Regions from separate parts of the Homo sapiens genome. Here regions 1, 2, 3, 4 and 6 are each linked to region 5. Evidence: promoter capture Hi-C in human tissues and cell types (Jung and others, 2019). All regions are on one chromosome and are shown on one strand. The core of a region is centred on a gene start or on the middle of the fragment in contact, and the rest is flanking DNA. Distances in the headings are between cores, read along the strand shown.

Region 1 (3,369 bases), core at 787-3,286, 300 kb after region 5:
ACAGAGCAAGACAGTCTCAAAAAAAAAAAAATTTTTTTTTTTGGCAGTGCCCAGTACAGGTGGTGGCACACATTAGGACTTCAAAATCCAGAGATTCCATGATTCTGAGTTACGTGAGTTTGGGTAGGATCCTGTGCCCTGTACTTAACTTTCTTCATCTGTAAGATGGGAGAACTGATTGGTTGAGCAATCAAATGAGATACTTATAATTATGAAATCACAGTGCTAAGTACTAACATAAGTTACCACTGAAAAAAAATGGACAAAGATTTTATTTCCTTTGCTCAAATTTAGTAAGACACAAATATTTTACTTTCCCCCCACTCTTCCCAAACATGTGAATACCAAATTGGGATCTGGGGACTTTCTGGAAGCATTGAAACAAAAAGATTCAAACTACTACTCTTGTAAGAAGGCATTAAATTTTTCCTTATATGATGACACCAAATATTCTTCCTTTCCATTAAATTAGGCTATTATGCAAAATGATTCCCTGTCTGCAGCTCACCTCCATTATTCCTTGAAAATTACCCTCTAAACATCCATAGATTTTTTGGGTGGTACATATTGGGTCATTCAGTCTGCACAACAGCAAAATGATCATGTCAAATATCCAAGGCAACTTAAGAATCTTTAAAATGACATTAAACAGAAATGTAAACATCATCAACACCTGTGGCCCAAATCAATAGGAAATCTCAAATCCTAAATACTCATGTCCAAATTCATGATCATGCTTTACATGTCTCAAAAATTTTATCCATTATAAAAATAAAGATGAACCATATCTACACCTTTGTTTATGGGGAATCATTACTGTTCATCCCAGGGATGTAGGACTGTATTGTTCCCCAGCATACATCAAACCTGAGCAGTTCCTCAGTGTTTTAATAAGATATGTTAGATAGGCCAGGCTCAGTGGCTCATGCCTGTAATCCCAGCACTCTGGAAGGCTGAGGCAGGTGGATCACGAGGTCAAGAGATTGAGACCATCCTGGCCAACATGGTGAAACCCCGTCTCTACTAAAAATACAAAAATTAGCTGGGCGTGGTGGCACACACATGTAGCCTACTCAGGAGGCTGAGGCAGCAGAATCACTTGAACCTGGGAGGAGGGGGTTGCAGTGAGCCAAAATCACGCCACTGCACTCCAGCCTGGCAACAGAGTGAGACTCCGTCTAAACAAAAAAAAAGGCCAGGCGCGGTGGTTCACGCCTGTAATCCCAGCACTTTGGGAGGCCGAGGCGGGTGGATCATGAGGTCAGAAGATCAAGACCATCCTGGCCAACATGGTGAAACCTCGTCTCTACTAAAAATACAAAAAAAAAAAAATTAGCTGGGCGTGATGGTGGGCGCCTGTAATCCCAGCTACTCCGGAGGCTGAGGCAGGAGAATGGCTTGAACCCAGGAGGCGGAGGTTGCAGTGAGCCAAGATCACACTCCAGCCTGATGACAGAGAAAGACCCTGTCTCAAAAAAAAAAAAAAAAGATATGTTAGATAATGGAAATAAATGATCAATGACAATATTGGAGGTCCCTACCCTCCAAAGCTAAGGTATCCAACACAACCATAGCTTCCCTATTAATCTCACAGGTTGGTTGTTATTTCATTTCCTTCAAAGATCTTAATTGCTTTCTAAAAACCAAATCCTCACCTTTTATTAACCATCTCTCTTTTCCCAAATCTATAAGCAACAGGAAGGCAAGAACTTGTTTCATGTTTCTATATCCATAGCCTACAATGTCTTGATTATTTGTGCTGAATTGTGTATGCTTTGATACTACAGTGCCAGGCCTATGAGAAAGGTTAAAAAAATCAGCATCAAGAGCAAGATGGCTTGATTTGAACAGTGATTCTGTCTTTGCACCTTGCTAGGTTTGTGGTCTCTGAAAACTTATCTACACTTACAGGACTCTGCTAGTGCACAAAAGAGAAAAAAAAGTATATAGTTTGCTAAAGACTCAGTGAACTTACATATTTTGACTGAGATATTTTGTGGAAAACATTGTCCAATACACCATAAGAAATATTTCCATGTTTAGATAATAAGAAAGGTTAAGAGCAGTTCCACAGGACTAGGATCTGACCTCACACTCAGATAAGGCCAAGTCTTATCCTGTTGAAGAGAAAAATGTCACATTTCCTTCATCAGACAAAGCTACTCAGCAATCATGATGGATCAAGACAAAAACAATAACCATGTCTCTAAAAATGGTAAAAGAGAACAGAGTTGAAGCCATTAAAATGACCAAAATTGCCCTCTACTCACTAATCCAAGTGAGTGGTTTCTTAGGAATTAGGTTTAGCTCCACTTCATTCTTCCTGCCTCTAGATAAGAATTATGATTACCAGTGACACAATTAAGTTCACCTCACAGCAGGCAACACACACAGGAGTGTCTCAGTTTGGTGATTAGCAATCAAGTCACCCAACAAATCCAAATCCAAAAAGAAGTTGTTTTGAGAAGGAGTCTTGCTCTGTCGCCCAGGCTGGAGCACAGTGGCGTGATCTCGGCTCACTGCAACCTCCACCTCCTGGGGTTCAAGCAATTCTCCTGCCTCAGCCTCTTGAGTAGCTGGGATTACAGGTGCACGCCACCATGCCCGGCTATTTTTTATATATTTTTTAGTAGAGATGGGGTTTCACCATGTTGGCCAGGCTGGTCTCGAACTCCTGACCTTGTGATCTGCCCACCTTGGCCTCCCAAAGTACTGGGATTACAGGCATGAGCCACTGCGCCCAGCCGAGCACCCTCTTACTGATACTCCCCAGAGTCATTTATGGTTTATGATCATTCTTATTCCTACAATTCTTAACACTCTTCTCTTGACTACAGGTGTGATCCTGGTGATCTTTGAAAAAAAGGCACTGAAACAACCATGATTTAAGTTTTTGGTATTATGAATGCATGAGAAATTTTCTGGGAAAAAATCATAACTATATTAAGAATAAAAAATAAAAAATTCCTAAGGAAAATACTTGATCTTGTATGCACATAATATTGACTCAGAATATATGAGGATTAACTCAATAAACTTAAAAACTTAATCTGAAAATCACTGGATTAAGAAAATGTGGCACATATACACCATGGAATACTATGCGGCCATAAAAAAGGATGAGTTCATGTCCTTTGTAGGGACATGGATGAAGCTGGAAACCACCATTCTCAGCAAAGTATCACAAGGACAAAAAACCAAACACCACATGTTCTCACTCACAGGTGGGAATTGAACAATGAGAACACTTGGACACAGGAAGGGGAACATCACACACGGGCCTGTTATGGGGTGGGGGGAGGGGGGAGGGATAGCATTAGGAGATATACCTAATGTAAAAGACGAGTTAATGGGTCCAGCACACCAACA
Region 2 (3,756 bases), core at 1-2,500, 510 kb before region 5:
ACCTTCAGCTGCCTCCACTCCTTCCAAACACATGAAAAGCCTCACACAGGAGAGAAACCCTATGATTGTAAGGAATGGGAAAAAACCTTCGATTCTCCCCAAACCGTTCGAAGATACAGGGTAGTGCACAGTGGAGATGGACCTTATAAATGTAAGTTTTGTGGGAAAGCCTTTGATAATCTCAGTTTATATCTCACACATGAAAGATCTCATACTGGACAGAAGCCATATGAATGTAATGAATGTGGGAAAGCCTTTGGTTTTCCCAGCTCCTTTCATAGACATGAAAGAATGCACACCGGGGAGAAACCATATGAATGTAAGCAATGTGGGAAAACCTTTAGTTGTTCCAGTTCCATTAAAAAACATGAAAGAATCCACACTGGAGAGAAGCCCTATGAATGCAAGCAATGTGGGAAAGCCTTCGCTTCTTCCAATTCCTTTCAGTATCATGAAAGGACTCACACTGGAGAGAAACCCTATGAATGTAAGCAATGTGGGAAAGCCTTTAATTGTTCCAGTTCCCTTAGAAAACATGCAAGAATTCACACTGGAGAGAAACCCTATATATGTAAACAATGTGGTAAAGCTTTTAGATTTCCCAGTTCTATTAAAAATCATGAAAAGACTCACACTGGAGAGAAGCCCTATGAATGTCAGGAATGTGGGAAAGCCTTCAGATATTCCAGTTCACTTCGAGTACATAAAAGAATTCACACTGGAGAGAAGCCGTATGAATGTGAGGACTGTGGGAAAGCCTTCAGTCATCCCACGACCTTTCATAGACATAAAATTACCCACACTGCAGAGAAACCTTATGAATGTCAGGAATGTGGGGAAGCCTTCCGTTATCCTGTTGCTTTTCGTAGACATAAAATTACCCACACTGCAGAGAAACTTTGAGTGTAAGGAATGTGGGAAAGCCTTCTGTTATCACAGTTCCCTTCAAAGACATGAAAGGACTCACAACGGAGAAAAGTTGTGTGGATATAAAAAATGTAAAGCCGGCTGGGTGCGGTGGCTGACGCCTGTAATCCCAGCACTTTGGGAGGCCAAGGCGGGCGGATCATGAGGTCAAGAGATTGAGACCATCATGGCCAACATGGTAAAACCCCATCTCTACTAAAAATACAAAAATTAGCTGGGCGTGGTGGCATGTGCCTGTAGTACCAGCTACTTGGGAGGCTGAGGCAGGAGAATTGCTTGAACCTGGGAGGTGGAGGTTGCAGTGAACCGAGATTGTGCCACTGTACTCCAGCCAGGTGACAGAGTGAGACTCCGTCTCAAAAAAAAAAAAAAAAAAAGTAAAGCCTTCCACTATTCCAGTACCTTCTGAAACCATGAAAGAACTGACACTTGAGAAAAACAATGATGTTAGGAACATGGGAAACCTTTCCTTTCTCTCTCAATCGTTTGAAGGCATATGGTGTGACATGCTGGCGATAGACCTCATAACTGTAAGGAACATGGAAAACGATTCTTGTTTTCCATGCTCCTTGTTTATTTTAGATACATGAAAGAATTTACTCTGGAGAGAAACTATGAGTGTAAAAAATGTGGTAACGCCTTGTGTAGTTTCTGTTTCTCTGAAATACTGTCATGTCCTGGTATTCTCAGGGGATTAGTTGCAGGCACCCCGCTCCCCACTTCAGAACATCTAAATCTGAAGATGCTCAAGTGCTTTATATAAAATGGTGTATTTTCCTAGAACCTAAGCACATCCTCTTGTACACTTTAAATCATCTCTAGGTTATCCATACTGCCTAATGCATTGTAAACGATATAAAAATAGTTGTTTCATTGTGTTATTTAGGGAATGCTGACAAGAAAAAACATCTGTAGATGTTTAATACAGATAACCATCACATGCCCACCTCCATAGTACAGGCCCACCTCATAGTATATGTCAGCTACAATGAAACATTTTCTTTTTTTTTTAAAAAACGTTTTGGATTGGTTTCATTTAATGGCCTCAAAAACACGTGTTAACATTCTCCAAATCCTTGGTTCTTCTCTCCTGATAACCCTCATGTGATGATTGCTCTGTGGTTCCTAAAGCTGCAGTGTGTTGAGGTGCTTAGATATGTGGCAGTGTAGATAAGTCAGGGGACATCAGTTTAACTTGAATTTTCTTTTTTTTTTTTTTTGAGATGGAGTCTTGCTCTGTCACCCAGGCTGGAGTGCAATGGTGTGATCTCGGCTCACTGCAACCTCCACCTCCTGGGCTCAAGTGATTCTCCTGCCTCAGCCTCCCAACCAGCTGGGATTACAGGTGCCCGCCACCACACCCGGCTAATTTTTGTATTTTTAGAAGAGATGGGGTTTCACCATGTTGGCCAGGCTGGTCTTGAACTCCTGACGTCGTGATCTGCCCACCTTGACCTCCCAAAGTGCTGGGACTACAGGAATGAGCCACCCTGCCCGGCCAGAATTTTCTTTCAGGACATCAGGAGGATCCTCTGCTGGAAGAACCAACATCTGATTGCAGATGTTGCCTCTTTGGTGGAAGGTCAGTAACACAAATCTTGGATCTGTGGTGTTTGAGGGCTGAAAATATTTAAGCATCGAACTTTCAGTCCTTTTTTTTTTTCTTTTTTTTTGAGATGGAGTCTCTGTCGCCCAGGCTGGAGTGCAGTGGCACGATCTCAGCTCACTGCAACCTCTGCCTCCCAGGTTCAAGCGATTCTCCTGCCTCAGCCTCCCAAATAGCTGGGATTACAGGCGCACACCACCATCCCCAGCTAAATTTTGTATTTGTAGCAGAGACAGGGTTTCATCATGTTGGCCAGGCTGGTCTTGAACTCCTGATCTCTGATGATCTGCCCACCTTGGCCTCCCAAAGTGCTGGGATTATAGGCGTGAGCCACCGCACCCTGCTGAAGTTTCAGTCTTCATAATTGCAGATGCTTTAGTTGGAAACGTTGTCATAGGAAAAGCTGTTTTTTCTTTCTCTTTGAATCATCAAACACATCTTGCAATGGTTTTGGCCATGTTATCTCTGGTGACCTGGAAGCGACTTTGATATTAAGCTTCAGAGTATGCTGAAACAAGTCAAGACTTTTGGTGATGTTAGGATGGTAAGCATGTATTTTGCATGTGAGGTCATAAATTTAGGGAGCAGGTAGAAAATTATTGCTTTATTTGTCCCCTGAAATTCATATTATTATTATTTTTTTGAGAGAGTTTTGCTCTTGTTGCCTAGGCTGGAGCGCAATGGCACAATCTTGGCTCAATGCAACCTCCACCTCCTGGTTTCAAGCGATTCTCCTGCCTCAGCCTCCCAAGTAGCTGAGACTGTAGGCATACGCCACCGTACCCGGCTAATTTTTTGTATTTAGTAGAGACAGGGTTTCACCATGTTGGTCAGGCTGGTCTCCAACTCCTGACCTCAGGTGATCCATGCACCTCGGCCTCCCAAAGTGCCGGGATTATAGAGATGCGCCACCACGCCCAGCCCTGAAATTCATATTTTGAAACCTTACTCCCTAATGTATGGAATGAGGAGATAGGATGCCTGGGAGGTAATTAGGATTACTTGGGATCATGAGGGTAGAGTTCTCAGGAATGGGACTATAAGGTTCCCTAGAGAGCTTGCATTTGCTCTCTATTATGTGAGGACACAATGAGATGAAAGCCTTCTTTGAACAAGGAAGCTTGCCCTTACCAGGCACTGAATCTACTATCACTTTGATCTTGGAGTTCACAATCTCCTGTATACTGAGGAGCAAATGTTAGGTGTTTAATACACCCAGCTTA
Region 3 (3,778 bases), core at 874-3,373, 310 kb before region 5:
CTCAAACTCCTGACCTCAAGTGATCCACCCCCCTCGGCCTCCCAAAGTGCTGGGATTACAGATGTGAGCCACATCGCCATGCCAGAAGATATGTTTTTATTTTTGTTTTACATGTTTAAGGCTAGGCTTTTATAAGGTACATGAGGAGACAAACCAGATAAATGCTTGATTGGTTGCAGAGATGCAGTCGCCTTATTTGGACTTGTCAACCGGAAATAATCAAAAGGTTCAGATTTCAGTTGGAAGAGTTTATTCAAGCAGAAAGATAGCAATGACCAAAACACAGACTCCAGAAAAATGGACTCAGTACTCCAAAATTGGAAGTTATGTTCTTGCTTATATTACTGAAAAAAGAGGTCCTGATCAGACCCCAAGAGAGTTCTTGGATCTCACACAGGAAGGAATTCAAGACGAGTCACAAAGTGCAGTGCGAAGAGAGTTTATTGAAAGCTACTCTGGGCCAGCATGATGGCTTAGGCCTGTAATCCAAGCACTTTGGGAGGCCCAGGCGAGAGGATCACTTGAGCTCAGGAGTTCGAGACCAGCCTGGGCAACTTAGCGAAACCCCGTCTCTTCCAAAAATAAGAAAAATTAGCCGGATGTGGTGGCCTGTGCCTGTAGTCTCAGTTACTCAGGAGGCTGAGGTGGGACAATCACTTGAACCTGGGAGGCAGAGGTTGCAGCCCAGCCGAGGATGCGCCACTGCACTCCAGCCTGGGTAACAGAGTGAGACCCCATCTCAAAAAACAAAAACAAAACAAACAAACAAAAAAGAGTTGAAGACCAACCTGGCCAACACAGCGAGACCCTGTCTCTATTTAAAAAAATAAAAAAGAAGAAGAAGAAGAAAGAAAGCTTCTCTGTTACAGAGTAGGGCATCCTCATACAGCAAGAGGAGGAATGTACTGTCTTAAGTTTTTCTTATGTAGGGATCTTGTCTATGTAAAGAATAAACTAAGCTGTGCCTACCTGCATGTGGGCTGACAGCATCACAAAATTTATTACTCTGTTGATTTAAAGAAAACTATCCTTTACATTTTAGTGCACAAGTGCATTAAAGCATAACTATAATTACCTTGAAAGCACATATTATGGGTATTGGGGTATTGGGACATCGGGACATTCTGTCGTTGTGGGAGTGTAAGGATACTTGCAGGCATCTTCAGGCTGTTTTCTTCATGGGAAACATTTTATGACTATGGGTTGTGACTGGCAAGGAGTGTTTCTTGTTAGTCTCAAGATGGAGCTGGTTGGTCTTTCTCTGGCTCCCCTAGGCACCTGCTTCCCTAACACTTATATAGGGAAACGGCAAATAAATATAATAGGATTACATTTTCCATAGAAGGCTGATGTATGAGGTACAATAATTTAATTTTTTTTTTTTTTTGAGGCAATGTCTTGCTCTGTGGCCCAGGCTGGAGCAGTGGTGCCATCACGGCTTACTGCAGCCTTGACTTCCCCATCTTGAGCACCTCCGCCTCCCAAGTAGCTGAGACTATAGTCGCCCACTACCACACCTGGGTAATTTTTAATTTTTTATGGAGGTGGGGTCTCGATACATTGCCCAGGCTTGTCTCTAGCTCCTGGCCTCAAACAGTCCTCCTTCTTTGGCCTCCACAAGTCTTGGGATTGCAGGCGTTAGCCAGTGCACCTGGCTAACAACTTAATTTGTTATCGTTTGCTTTTTTCCCCCAGAGCTTGTTTTCTTTTCTTTCTAGCTGGTTTTTATTTCCTTTTCAATTTAAAAGAGTGAATTCAACATTCCAACTGAAGACAATGTGATAGCCATGAAGTCTTTGTGTGAGAAAGTTAAGAGGGAAGTTAGTCTACTACAGAGATCAGTAGTGAAGAGGGGCCCAGTGGGATGGCTCACACCTGTAACCCCAGCACTTTGGGAGGCTGAGGCAGGTGGATGGCTTGATCTCAGGAGTTCAAGCCTGGGCAACATAGTGAGACCCCCCATCTCAATTGTGAAAAATCATATTAAATAAATTAAAAATAGCAAAGAGGGAAAGGGTCTTTCCTGTTTCCCTTCAGTCATTTACAACATTTTATAAAACAGTATAGGTAAGAAGGAAGGCGAATCTGTAATCAAGGAAAGAGGTGTTCCAGCTGGCTATTTGAAAGCTGTGTGTCATGTGACTCAACCCCATGATCACATTGCTTCAAGACAGTTTAGAGATGCACCAGCTTAAATATTTGAATTACTTGGTTGTTTTTGTTTGTTTGTTTGTCTTGAGACGGGGTCTCACTCTGTCGTCTAGGCTGGAGTGCAGTGGTGCAATCTCAGCTCACTGCAGCCTCCACCTCCTAGGTTCAAGTAATTCTCCTGCCTTAGCCTCCCAAGTAGCTGGGATTACAGGTACATGCCACCATACTCGGCTAATTTTTGTATTTTTAGTAAAGACAGGGTTTTATCACATTGGCCAGGCTGGTCTCCAACTCCTGTCCTCAAGTGGTCCACCCACCTTGGCCTCCCAAAGTGGCGGGATTACAGGTGTGAGCCACCATGGCTGGCCTGACTTACTTCTTCCAACAGCCTATATAGGTAGAAAATTTCTAGTTATGTAATCAGAGGTTAATTGGTGGACTGTGCCTGATTAAGCATAAATTTCATTTTTCTATAAATTAGTAATTTTATTTATTTATTTTTTTTGAGACGAAGTTTCACTCTTGTTGCCCAGGGTGGTGTGCAGTGGTGCAATCTCGGCTCACTGCAACCCCTGCCTTCCAGTTTCAAGCGATTCTCCTGCCTCAGCCTCCTGAGAAGCTGGGATTACAGGCGCCTGCCACCACGCCTGGCTAATTTTTGTATTTTTAGTAGAGACTTGGTTTCACCATGTTGGCCAGGCTGGTCTCGAACTCTTGACCTCGTGATCCACCTGCCTTGGACTCTCAAAAGTGCTGGGATTACAGGTGTGAGCCACCACGCCTGGCCTAAATTAGTAATTTTCAAGAGTTGTATTTCAATTTGATTTCAGGGTCGTTAGGTACCACGGACCCTACTGGATTGAACAAAGGAGGACGAATGCGGGAATAAAGACAAAGGCAAAAGAATATGTTTGGAACAAGGGGTCAGGGGGCTTCTTGCTTGTAGTGAACGTGGGCCCCGAGCTTCTAGCACCCTTCATGTTTACTGAGTAAAGGGGATAGAGAGAAGCGGGTGGTTGTAGGTCAGCTACTTGATTTAGAGCAGGCCTGCATGACTGCATTTTTCAAACAATAGGCTCCAGATGTCCCAGTAGATAACCTCAAGCAGCACAGCACCAGGGAGTGATTGTCCTCAGTATACCTTCTGGCAGCAGAAGCAGATGTGAGTTTGCCCACATTCTGCATTCATGATAAACAGTTCACTGTTTATCATATAGCCTTCAGTGGAAAGCTGAGTTGGTCACAACCTTTGGGCCTTGGGCTCCCAACATCTCTCCCTTTCTGTTTATGCATTAATTGAATGAATGTAAGGCCAGGTTGGGCAGCTCTCATTTTCTGATTGGCGGTCCATCTGATTTTACAGACTATGAACAAAAAACAGAGACTAAACAACATCATTCCAATAACTATATATGAGATGTTAATATAGTGCTTTAGATTGGTCCAAATATTGAGGCTCTCTAGGCCTTGCAGGAATTCACTCCAGACTTCTAAGGAAGGCTGAAACTCTTGAGTTTGCTTATTTAAGTCAAGAATTTTGTTTTGCAGTTCACCAATATCAAAGGTCCCGTGGATGCTCACTTTGGTTGTATTCTAAGTTGTTTACACAAATATGAGTGGCATTAAG
Region 4 (3,518 bases), core at 246-2,745, 280 kb after region 5:
GCCTAGGCTGGGATGCAGAGGCACGATCATAGCTCACTGCAACTTCAAACTCCTGGGCTCCAGCCATCATCCCACCTCAGCCTCAGGAGTAGCTGCGACTACAGGTGCCAGCTACCAAGCCCAGCTAATTTTATTATTATCATTTACACTAGAGACAAAGTCTTGCCATGTTGCCCAGGCTGGTCTGGAACTACTGGGATCAAGCAATACCTCTGCCTTAGCCTCCCAAGGTGCTGGAATTACAGGAATGACCCACCGTGTTCAGGAACCCAAAACAATTCTTTCAAGAAAAAGCCATACATTGCTAGCTGAAAACAAGATGACAAACTAGTGAAATATCGCCTGGGGCCAAACAGTTCATACTGTTGCTGTGAATTAAGGACAGAAGGTTAGCCTGGGGAAGTCTCTGGAAACCAAGAGATTTGCTGCCAGCCCTAGGAAGAGTCAGGATGAGAGAACACAGTGGTGGATTTGAGACCCTGCTGCCCACGTCTTTGGAAGACTCAGAGGGGAAACGGTCGCCCTTGGAAAGGAAGAAAGGACTGAGGACCACGGAAACCACAGCTCCTCCCACACACAAACCCCACACACGAGTCTGGATTCCACCTGGTGACTCGTCGTCACCGTGCAGCCTCCTCACCGGGTTCACAGGAACTGCGAGCCAGGCTGGAGGCGAGATTGCAGTTAGATATTAAACAGGTGCCCTCAGCCCCGCTGCCTCAAGGGGCCGCCTCCCTGAGAGTCAGGTCACAGCAGACGCTGACCGCCGGCTTCCCCATTGTGCCTGGGGATAAGATCTCCGAGTGCTGCTCAAGAGTCGCCGGAGTTCTCAGATCCTGAATCCCAGCAGAAAGGCTGGCGCCAACCAGGTTGAAGACCCCACGAGGGAGCCCTCTCAGCAGAATGCGGTTTCTTCACCTCCTGTCCCAGGATTCACCCCTCACTTCCCCACCAACCAAGGACGCTACACCCAGCCGCCCCCGTCCAGACCCCAAATCCCTCAGGGAGGCGGATCTGGGGTGTCCTCCCCTCTCCTCCTGTTAAACCGTTTCTGCTGCAGCCCTCGGCGTCTCGGTGCAGTGAGTCGGGCCGCGAACCTGTGTTGGTTACAGCCGCACAATCTGGGGAGACCCGGGGCTGCGGGCTCGGAGCTGCCCAGAGAGGGCGCCGGGGCCGCAGTCGCCGCGCAGGAACGGGACAGGACGCCCGGGGTCCCGGCTGCATGCCCAGCCCCACCCTGCGGCCGAGGGCCGACCTACGCCAGGGGGACCCGGGTCCGTAGATCCCGAAGTCGCCCTTGGGGAGGCCCGGGTCCAGCCACAGCCGATTACGGCCGGTTCCACCTAACCCCTCCCCCGCCTCGGGACGCCGGCCCAGCACACGCACCATTTCCCGACTTCCGCGGTGTCCCAGGTCCTACCGACAGCTCCCGCTGCCAATGCGTGTTCCAGCCAGACAAAGGCTGCCTCAGAACTTCCAGGTCGTCTCTCAGCTACAGAACCCAGAGCCGAGCGCAGGTGGGTGGAGCAGACGCCGCGGGCTTTTTCAACCACACACACTTCTCTGGGCAGTGCCTGATTGACAGTTCCCACGAACCCGCCCCACGCCCCTGATTGGATAGGGCGTCAGGTCCCGCCCCCTGAGGGCTGATTGACAGAAGAAGCGATCTTGCACAGCTGAGTGGAGCCGGATGAGCAAGTTCCTGACACAGCCCTTGGCAGGGGGGGCTTCCTCCCTGCTCTTTGATCTGAATCCTCCCGGGTTATATTTGCACTTAAGCGGAATTTCCTGCCCGTACTCAATAGGACCTCCTGCTTCTTCCTCCTGGACACGGACTGACAAACTAATTATATCTTTTTTTTTTTTTTTCCTCGAGAGGGAGTCTTGCTCTGTCGCCCAGGCTAGAGTGCAATGGTGCGAGGCTCACTGCAACCTTCGCCTCCTGGGTGGGTTCAAGCAATTCTCCTGCCTCAGCCTCCCGAGTAGCTAGGATTACAGGCACGCGCCACCACCCGGCTAATTTTTGTATTTTTCAGTAGAGGCTGGGTTTCACCATGTTGGCCAGGCTGGTCTCAAACTCGTGACCTCGTGATCCGCCTACCTTGGCCTCCCAAAGTTCTGGGATTAGAGGCGTGAGCAACTGCGCCTGGCTCCAATTATGCTCTTTTTCAATGAAATTTTTCAAGATTTTTCAATGTACAATTAAATTATTTTTTACTATAGTCACTCTGTTGTGCTAGCAAATACTAGGTCTTATTCATTCTTTGTAACTATTTTTTATACCTATTAACCATCCCCACTTCCCCCATAACTACTCCTCGCTACTACTTTTCGCAGCCTCTGGTAACCATCCTTCTACACATTTTTGGTTGTTTGAGATGGGGTCTTGCTCTGTTACCTAGGCTGGAGTGCAGTGGGGCCATCATGGCTCACTGCAACCTCTACCTCCTAAGCTCAAGCAATCCTCCCACCTCAGCCTCTCAAGTAGCTTCAGATTGTTCACTGTTGGCATATAAAAATGTTATTGATTTTTGTGTGTTGATATTGTATACTGCAACTTTACTGAATTTATTTCTCAGTTCTAATACTTTTTTGGTGGAGTCTTTAGGTATTTCCAGATATAAGATCATATTATATGCAAACAAGGATAATTTGACTTCTTCCTTCCCAATATGGATGCCCTTTATTTCTTTTTTTTTCTTTTTTTTTTTTTTGTCTTATTGCTCTAGCTGGGACTTCAAGTACTGTGTTGAACAACAGTGGTAAAAGTGGGCATTCTTATTGTGTTCCAGATCTTACAGGAAGGGCTTTCAGTTTTTCCCCATTCATTATCATGCTAGCTGTGGGTCTGCCATATATAGCTTTTATTATGTTAAGGTATGCTCCTTCTTTACCCACTTTTTTTTAGGGTTTTTATCATGAAGGGATGTTAAATATTATCAAAAGCTTTTTCAGTGCACATTGAAATGATTATATGGTGTTTGCCCTTTATTCTGTTGAAATGATACATCACATTGATTGATTTGCATATATTGAACCATCCTTGCATCCCAGGGATAAAGCCCACTTGGTCATGATGAATGATCTTTTTGGTGTATTGTTAAATTCAGTTTGCTAGTATTGAGTTGAGGATTTTTGCATCAATATTCATCAGTGACACTGGCCTATAGTTTTCTTTTTCTGACATGTCTTTGTCTGGTTTTGGTGTCAAAGTAATATTGGCTTTGTAAAATAAATTTGGAAGTATTGCCTTCTCCTCTGTTTTTTGGAATAGTTTGAGTAAGATTGGTATTAGTTCTTTTTTAAATGTTGGTAGAATTCAGCAGTGGAGCCACTGGGTTCTGGGGTTTTCTTTGCTAGGAGACTTTTTATTATGGCTTTGATCTCATTATTTGTTATTGGTCTGTTCAGGTTTTTTATTTCTTCATGGTTCAATGTTGCTATGTTCTATCTGCCTAGGAATTTATCAGTTTCTTCTAGGTTTTCCAGTTTATTGGCATATAGTTGTTCTTAGTTGC
Region 5 (3,562 bases), core at 391-2,890:
GGAGTGCAGTGGCGCGATCTCGGCTCACTGGAACCTCTACCTCCCGGGTTCAAGCGATTCTTGTGCCTCAGCCTCCCCAGAAGCTGGGATTATAGGCGCCCGGCTAATTTTTGTAATTTTAGTAGAGACGGGGTTTCGCCATCTTGGCCAGGCTGGTTTTGAACTCCTGACCTCAAGTGATCCGCCCGCCTCGGCCTCTCAAAGTGTTGGGGATTACAGGCATGAACCACTGTGCCCGGCCTTGATTTTTCTATGTATAGAGTTGCTGCAGTCAGGCTGTAATTTGTATATATGAAGAAAATATGTAAAGATCATATTTAGAGACTCATTTAGGTAGCGTTCCAGAGAAATGGTTTATGAGCTAGAGAGGTTGGAATTTCAAGGGGCCTAAATTGACCACAGGTGAGAGTTTTCTGCTGGTGTAAATTATTAAGGTATTGAAGGAGGGAGCGTTCCCACATTGTGATGCTGTGACAGGAGGGCATGTTGAGCTCCCAGAGTTAAATCCTTAGGTTTCCTGCCTCATCATCAGGGTCTAATGTACTCTGTGGCTCCACTTCAGCAGTCACTGACTCTTAAGCTTGGGAATATGTTCTACCTTCTGAATTCATCTTTTCCTTTTTAAATGTTCTGAAGTGCCCTGCTTATCTGAGCTAGTTCAAATTTTCGCTTTACTTCCCTTTTGATTTCTTTACAGATTACGGAAATAGAACTTGTTTTTCCATGTATTTAATAATTTTATTCACTTGTTGGCAGTTTTTTATTTTCTTGGGTGAAAATGAGTAGATTGATTTGGGAGGCGAAAGTGGGAGGTTCACTTGAGGCTAGGAGTTCAAGACCAGCCTGGACAACAAACGAAATCCCGTCTCTACAAAAAATTAAAGAATTTGCCGGGCTTGGTGGCATGTACCTGTAGTCTCTACTACTCAGGGGACTGAAGCGGAAGGTTCGCTTGAACCCAGGAGATGGAGGCTGCAGTGAGCTATGATCATGCCATTGCACTCTAACCTGGGTGGCAGAGCTAGACCCTGTCTCAAATAAATAAATAAAGTAATAAATAAGTAAATAAAGTAATAAATAAGTAAATAAAGTAAAAAATAGAGAGAGATAAAGAGGTATGGTATGAGAAAGCCTTGGGCACGCTTCCCATATCCTCATCCCAAATTTCCGATCCCTGGGAATATCACGCCCTTTCTTCTGTTCCAGTCCTGCCTGGAACTCCCTGCGCACACCTGTGACTCCTCATGCAAGAGGTAGATGAAGAAATGACCCACTGAGTACAGGAAGTATCTCCTTTGGTAAACCCGGATTAAGTTCTGCTAAAATGCAAGTATCTCCCATCTCCCCATCCCCCGCAGACCAAGTACAGTGAAGGGGACGAGGGGAAGAAGTCCACCCTGCGTTTGAGGGCTGGGGCCAAGACCCCTCATTCCCGCTTCACTCATCTATGCTTCACATCTCCTGTCATTCACATCTGTCAAGATGCAGGGGGCAGAGCCCGAAGCTGTACCCAATCAGGGGCACCGGGGAGGAGCTCTGCGATCGGTCCAATCAGGCGCGCCGTCGGGGACGCAGCTGCAGACGTTCAACCTTCTCGCGGGATTTTCATTTCTCGCGTCTGCCGTACTTGGTTTCGCTTCGCTAGTCCCAGAGGCCCAGAGTGGCTCGCCTGGAGTCTCTGTGGCGCGGTTTCCTGTACCTGCCTTGGGATCCGGAGGGAGGAAGCTGGGACACCCGGGAGTCAGGAAATGGTGAGTGTGTCGGGCCCTGCGTCCCGAGACAGGGAGGAGGGGCTGGTTGGACGACCGGAACTGGCTGTGGCGCGGCCCGGGCCTTCCCGTGGGCGACTCTGGGTCTGCGTACCGAGTCCCTCTGGCGCAGCTCAGCCCTTGGTACCCTCGGCCTCAGGGTGGGGCTGGGCCGGCAGCCGGGACCCCGGGCGTCCTCGTCCCGCCCTGTGCCGCGATTGCGGCCCCGGCCCCGAAGACCCAAGTCTCTTCAGATTGTGCGGGGCCCACGCGAGGGTCATGGGGTGGGGGAAATCCTGACTTGTGCGTGGAAGGAGCTGTGGTGTATGAGGTTCCCAGTTCCTTTTCTCTCCACAGAGGACACCCGTTTTTCCCTGAGTTTTCTAAGTGTATGGGATGCAGGGTCCCAAATCCTCACTCTGTCCCCCAGCCTGCTGTTTCCAGGGCTTGCAGTAAATCCCCAAATTTCCTGTTCTCTTTTCGCTTTTCCAAACGCCAACCTCTCCCCTTCCATTCACGACATTAGCAACCGTTTCTCCTATATTCTACATTTCAGATATTGTGCTTTCATTGTTTATTTTTCAACAAAGCAATGGATTACTCTTTCATCAAGGTTTGTTTTCTGTTCATAGCCTTGACACTCCGCTGTAAGAAACCTTTGTGCTTGTCCTTTTGTCTCCTCTATGCACAGATACCTCATCAGAATGTCTTTGAGTTGAGGTTCCCCTTTGGAATCTTTACAGGGTGATATGCCTTCAGCGCCCCCTCCTATTTATTTTTTCCTGGTTCTGGGTTTCAAAACTGTCTGGGGCTGACTCAAGCTGCCCACAGCTGCCAAGTCTCTTGGAGGATCTAGTGAATATTGGGTCTTGGGTGAGTCTTCCTAGAGGACAGTTGAAATAGAAGGCTGGGAGAATGCCCTGGGACTAGGATAAATCTAGCATACCCTGCTTCTAAATAGCCAACCTCTGGGGGCACTCAGCTTTTCCTCCCCCAACCCCAGTTTCCATCCTTTGGAGACACACTGGTGGTCAGCCAATCAGATGCTGGTATTGAGGATTGAGAAAAGAAAATTTTTTGTGTGTTTTGAAAGAGTCTCGCTCTGTCGCCTAGGCTGGAGTGCAGTGACGTGATCTCGGCTCACTGCAACCTCCATCTTCTGGGTTCAAGCGATTCTCCTGCCTCAGCCTCCCCTGTAGTTGGGACCACAGTTTTGCGCCACCACTCCCAGATAACTTTTTTTTTTTTTTTTTTTTTTTGAGACGGAGTCTCTCTGTCGCCCAAGCTGGAGTGCAGTGGCGTGATGTCGGCTCACTGCAACCTCTGCCTCCCGGATTCAAGCGATTCTCCTGCCTCAGCCTCCCCAGTACCTGGGACTACAGGCGCATGCCACCACGCCCGGCTAATTTTTTGTGTTTTTAGTAGAGACGGAGTTTCACCTTGTTAGCCAGGATGGTCTTGATCTCCTGACCTCGCGATCCGCCTGCCTTGGCCTCCCAGAGTGCTGGGATTACAGGCGTAACTGTACCCGGCCTCAAAAAAATAATTTTCGTCTGATAAATGTGGGTCCTTTTAAATGAACGGGCACATAGAGACATTCAAGTGATACAGCAATCACCTTCTAACTCCCTGAAGCTATGAATTCATCTTTTGAAACTGCTATTGCCACAAGTAGGTATAATCAACTTACTAATGCAACACGGGACCCTGGAACCCACACCCTATAGCTTAACAGTGCATAGCCACGCGCTTATCAATGTTACTTCTGTAAATCAGTGAGAATTCCTGACAAACAACTTTGTATCAGCCCACAT
Region 6 (3,811 bases), core at 242-2,741, 470 kb before region 5:
TTTTAAAAAGAGCTAAGCCGCCACTTGTTAACTAGGGGTCACAAGCACTGTGAGTTTCCTGAAAACCAACACCTTTTTAACTTTGGGGGCTCACCTGAGCTAGTCAATCAGAGCTCAGCTGTATCAACCAATCAGAACTGAGTTTCAAGTTTCAGATCTTCATTTGCATAAAAGCACTTGACTAGGAACCCAGATGGGAACTTTTGCTATAAAACCTAAGCTTTCCCTTGTTCTCTGGAACAAATAATGTTTAGGTTGCAAACTCCTTATGCCTTTTCCCCAGAACTATGTAGAAATAACGCCTTCTAAAATGTGATCTTGATACCAGGGAACTCCTTTTTTTTTTTTTTTTTTTTTTTTTTTTTGAGTCGGAGTCTTGCTCTGTTGCCCAGGCTGGAGTGCAGTGGCGTGATCTCAGCTCACTGCAAGCTCCGCCTCCCAAGTGGCTGAGAGACAGGTGCGCACCACCACGCCCAGCTAATTTTTTGTCATTTAGTAGAGATGGGGTTTCACCCTGTTGGCCAAGATGGTCTCAATCGACCTGACCTTGTGATCTACGTGCCTCGGCCTCCCAAAGTGCTGGGATTACAGGCGTGAGCCACCGCACCTGGCTGATACCAGGGAACTCCCAGAGCAAAGCACTAAATACTTTCATTCCTCTAAGGTCTATGACTCTAATCAGCAGAAAGTAGTTAGAGCAGTTATCATTCCTTTTCCTTCAAGACTTAGGAATGAACATAATAGGAGGGATTTGTAACCACAACAGATTATGTGGTACAACTTCTATATAACAAAGCTGAGTTTTCAGTTGCCATGGACCCAACACTCAAGGTCACATAATCTGAGCATGCCCAGATGAACCAAATGTGTAACCATGGGTGGAACCTATATGCTTGGACTGAGGTGTGGAGATTAAAGTAAAAAGTAGATGCTGGGCACGGTGACTCATGCCTGTAATCCCAGCACTTTGGGAGGCTGAGGTGGGTGGATTGCCTGAGCTCAAGAGTTCAAGACCACCCAGAGCAACATGGTAAAACCCTGTCTCTGTGAAAGATACAAAATATTAACCAGGTGTGGTGGCGCACACCTGTAGTCCCAGCTACTTGGGAGGCTGAGGCAGAATTGCTTGAGCTCCAGAGGTGAAGGTTGCAGTGAGCGAGATCATGCCACTGCATTCCAGCTTGGGCTACAGAGTGAGGCTCTGTCTCAAAAAAAAAAAAAAAAAAAAGATACCACATGGTGGAATCTAGGATCTAATCAGGTTGGGCCCCGGTATCATCCCATGGCAGGATCCAATCGAGTCACATTAACCTGGCATGAGATCATTGCAAGATGCAGTGAGTTCATGTCTTATTACCCCACGCTTATAAAACTTGCCAAAGCCCCCAGCTCAGGGAGACATATTTGAGCATTTCTTCCTTTCTCCTTGCCAGTCAAACTTGTAGTAAAGCTTTTCTTTCTTCAAAAGCTGGTGCCATGCTATTGGCTTGTGTGTACATCTGGAAGTGAGCCAATTCACTACTTGCTAACATAACAAAGAATCAGCAACTGTGAAGATGAAACAATTAAAATTATCCAGTCTGGGCCAGGCGCGGTGGCTCACACCTGTAATCCCAGCACTTTGGGAGGTCCAGGTGGGTGGATCACCTGAGGTCGGGAGTTCGAGACCAGCCTGACCAACATGGAGAAACCCTGTCTCTACTAAAAATACAGAATTAGCTGGGTGTGGTGGTGCATGCCTGTAATCCCAGTTACTTGGGAGGCTGAGGTAGAAGAATAGCTTGAACCAAGGAGGTGGAGGTAGCAGTGAACCGAGATTACGCCATTGCACACCAGCCTGGGCAACGAGAGTGAAACTCCATCTCAAAAAAAAAAAAAAAAAAAAAGAAAGAAAAAAATTACCAGTCTGTGGAAAAGAAAGAGGAAAGAAATTGAGAGAATGTGTTACTAGTATACCTGCCTTGCCAGTCATGTTAAAGTTCTTCAGAGCGAAGGAAACTGATACAGGTTAGGAAAGCAGATGTTTCAGAAATAAAACTTGTTAGAAAATAATTAAATGAGGGCACAAATATGATTATCTTTTCTTCTCCTTCATAGATAAATGTTTGTTCAAATGAATATCAACAATGTATTGGGTGGTTATAGCTTCTAACAGGTCAAATGCGTGACAGTGATATTATATGGGATTGGAAAGAGGAATTCAGAACACTCTTAACATATTGGCACTACCCCAGACACCAGTATAGTGTTATTTGAAAATGAAAGTCCATTAGTTGCAAATGTATACTGCAAACTATGGAATTCACTAATAAAATTTAAGAAACAAGTAGACTTACTACACTAATAGAAGCAAGCAAATGGAATCATATAGAACGCTCAATTAAAAGGCAGAAAAATAGAGCAAGTAGAAAAAAAGCACAAGTACAACAAACAATATATATGAACATATTAATCTATGTCAATTACCACTTTGAATGTGTATTTTTTTTTTTTTTTGAGATGGAGTCTCGCTCCATCGCCCAGGCTGGAGTGCAGTGGTGCCATCTCGGCTCACTGCAAGCTCCGCCTCCCGGGTTCACGCCATTCTCCTGCCTCAGCCTCCCGAGTAGCTGGGACTACAGGTGCCCACCAACACGCCTGGCTAATTTTTTATATTTTTAGTAGAGACGGGGTTTCACCATGCTAGCCAGGATGGTCTCAATCTCCTGACCTCGTGATTCATCTCAGGAAGACAAGATGGGTGGATCACTTGAGCCCAGGAGTTCTCAAGACCAGCTGAGCAACATGGAGAGACCCTGTCTCTACAAAAAATAAATACAAAAATTAGCCAGGCATGGTAGCACACGCCTGTAGTCCCAGATGAGGTGGGAGGATTGCTTGAGTTCGGGAGGCACAGGTTGCTGTGATCACACCACTGCACCCCAGCCTGGGTGCCAGAGACCCTGTCTCGAAAAATAAATAAATAAATAAATAAACCAAAAAACCTGATTTATCTGAATTTAATATAGCCGTTCCATACTTTTGAGTAGGGCTAGAATGGCATATATTTCACCATACCTTTCTATTTAAGGTATCTGTGTCTTTCTGTTGAAAATGGTTATCTTTTACACATTGCTGGGCCTTGTTTTTAATTCTACTCTGCCAGTGCCTGTCTTTTTTACTGGTGTATATAGATAATACACATTCAGGCCGGGCGCGGCGGCTCATGCCTGTAATCCCAGCACTTTGGGAGGCCGAGGTGGGTGGATCAACTGAGATCAAGAGTTTGAGACCAGCCTAACCAACATGGTGAAACCCTGTCTCTACTAAAAATACAAAAATTAGCCGGGTGTGGTGGCATGCACCTGTAGTCCCAGCTACTCAGGAGGCTGAAACAGGAGACCATGGAATATTCACCAAGGCAGACCACATAGCATAAAACATACCTTAACAAATTTAAAAAAATCAAATTCCATAAAATACGAAATCAAACCGTATTAGCATTAAACTAGAGATCAATAGCAGAAGCATAGTTTAAAAGCCTCCAGAAAGTAAAGATTTAAACCACAAACTTCTAAACTATGCAACAGACAGAATTCTCCAGAGATACTTAAATATTCCAAAAATTGAAAAAAACTTTTAGCAAAATTTGTAGAATACAGCAAAGGCAGTGCTTAGAGAGCTATTTAAATAATTAAATGCAAACTCTTGAAAGTAAAGATCTAAAAAACAATGCTGTAAATTCCACCCCAGGAAACTAGAGAAAGAAGAGCACGATAAATGTAAATTAAGGAGAGGAAAACAACGAGAGAAGATATTAATGAAATTGCAA

The links. Contacts are between HindIII fragments. The study calls those that stand out against the background at their distance.
Region 1: a fragment that was not itself captured here is called in contact with the fragment with the promoter of ZNF136 in region 5 in 1 of the 25 tissues and cell types used here (liver).
Region 2: a contact is called between a fragment that was not itself captured here and the fragment with the promoter of ZNF136 in region 5, in 1 of the 25 tissues and cell types used here (dorsolateral prefrontal cortex).
Region 3: a fragment that was not itself captured here is called in contact with the fragment with the promoter of ZNF136 in region 5 in 1 of the 25 tissues and cell types used here (lymphoblastoid cells).
Region 4: a contact is called between the fragment with the promoter of ZNF443 here and the fragment with the promoter of ZNF136 in region 5, in 3 of the 25 tissues and cell types used here (adrenal gland, mesenchymal stem cells and small bowel).
Region 6: a contact is called between a fragment that was not itself captured here and the fragment with the promoter of ZNF136 in region 5, in 2 of the 25 tissues and cell types used here (adrenal gland and lymphoblastoid cells).

What each region holds. Positions count from the first base shown.
Region 1 is chr19:12,457,722-12,461,090 of GRCh38, forward strand. No RefSeq gene overlaps it. Among named protein-coding and RNA genes, the nearest start is that of ZNF443, 18 kb to the left of the region's middle. The HindIII fragment of the contact is 6,925 bases long and covers 1-3,369 here.
Region 2 is chr19:11,651,903-11,655,658 of GRCh38, forward strand. It overlaps the pseudogene ZNF887P. Among named protein-coding and RNA genes, the nearest start is that of ZNF627, 56 kb to the left of the region's middle. The HindIII fragment of the contact is 4,182 bases long and covers 1-3,341 here.
Region 3 is chr19:11,850,291-11,854,068 of GRCh38, forward strand. The region is part of intron 1 of ZNF439 (zinc finger protein 439); the gene reads left to right. Among named protein-coding and RNA genes, the nearest start is that of ZNF439, 3.5 kb to the left of the region's middle. The HindIII fragment of the contact is 4,001 bases long and covers 124-3,778 here.
Region 4 is chr19:12,439,526-12,443,043 of GRCh38, forward strand. It overlaps ZNF443 (zinc finger protein 443), which reads right to left and starts at 1,496. Exons shown (of 4, transcript NM_005815.5): 1 at 1,387-1,496. The coding sequence starts at 1,389. RefSeq lists a silencer at 1,175-1,264 and an enhancer at 1,675-1,944. The HindIII fragment of the contact is 16,773 bases long and covers 1-3,518 here.
Region 5 is chr19:12,161,456-12,165,017 of GRCh38, forward strand. It overlaps ZNF136 (zinc finger protein 136), which reads left to right and starts at 1,641. Exons shown (of 4, transcript NM_003437.5): 1 at 1,641-1,751. The coding sequence starts at 1,749. RefSeq lists enhancers at 1,482-1,571, 1,582-1,741. The HindIII fragment of the contact is 18,447 bases long and covers 1-3,562 here.
Region 6 is chr19:11,687,724-11,691,534 of GRCh38, forward strand. No RefSeq gene overlaps it. Among named protein-coding and RNA genes, the nearest start is that of ZNF823, 49 kb to the right of the region's middle. The HindIII fragment of the contact is 6,716 bases long and covers 1-3,811 here.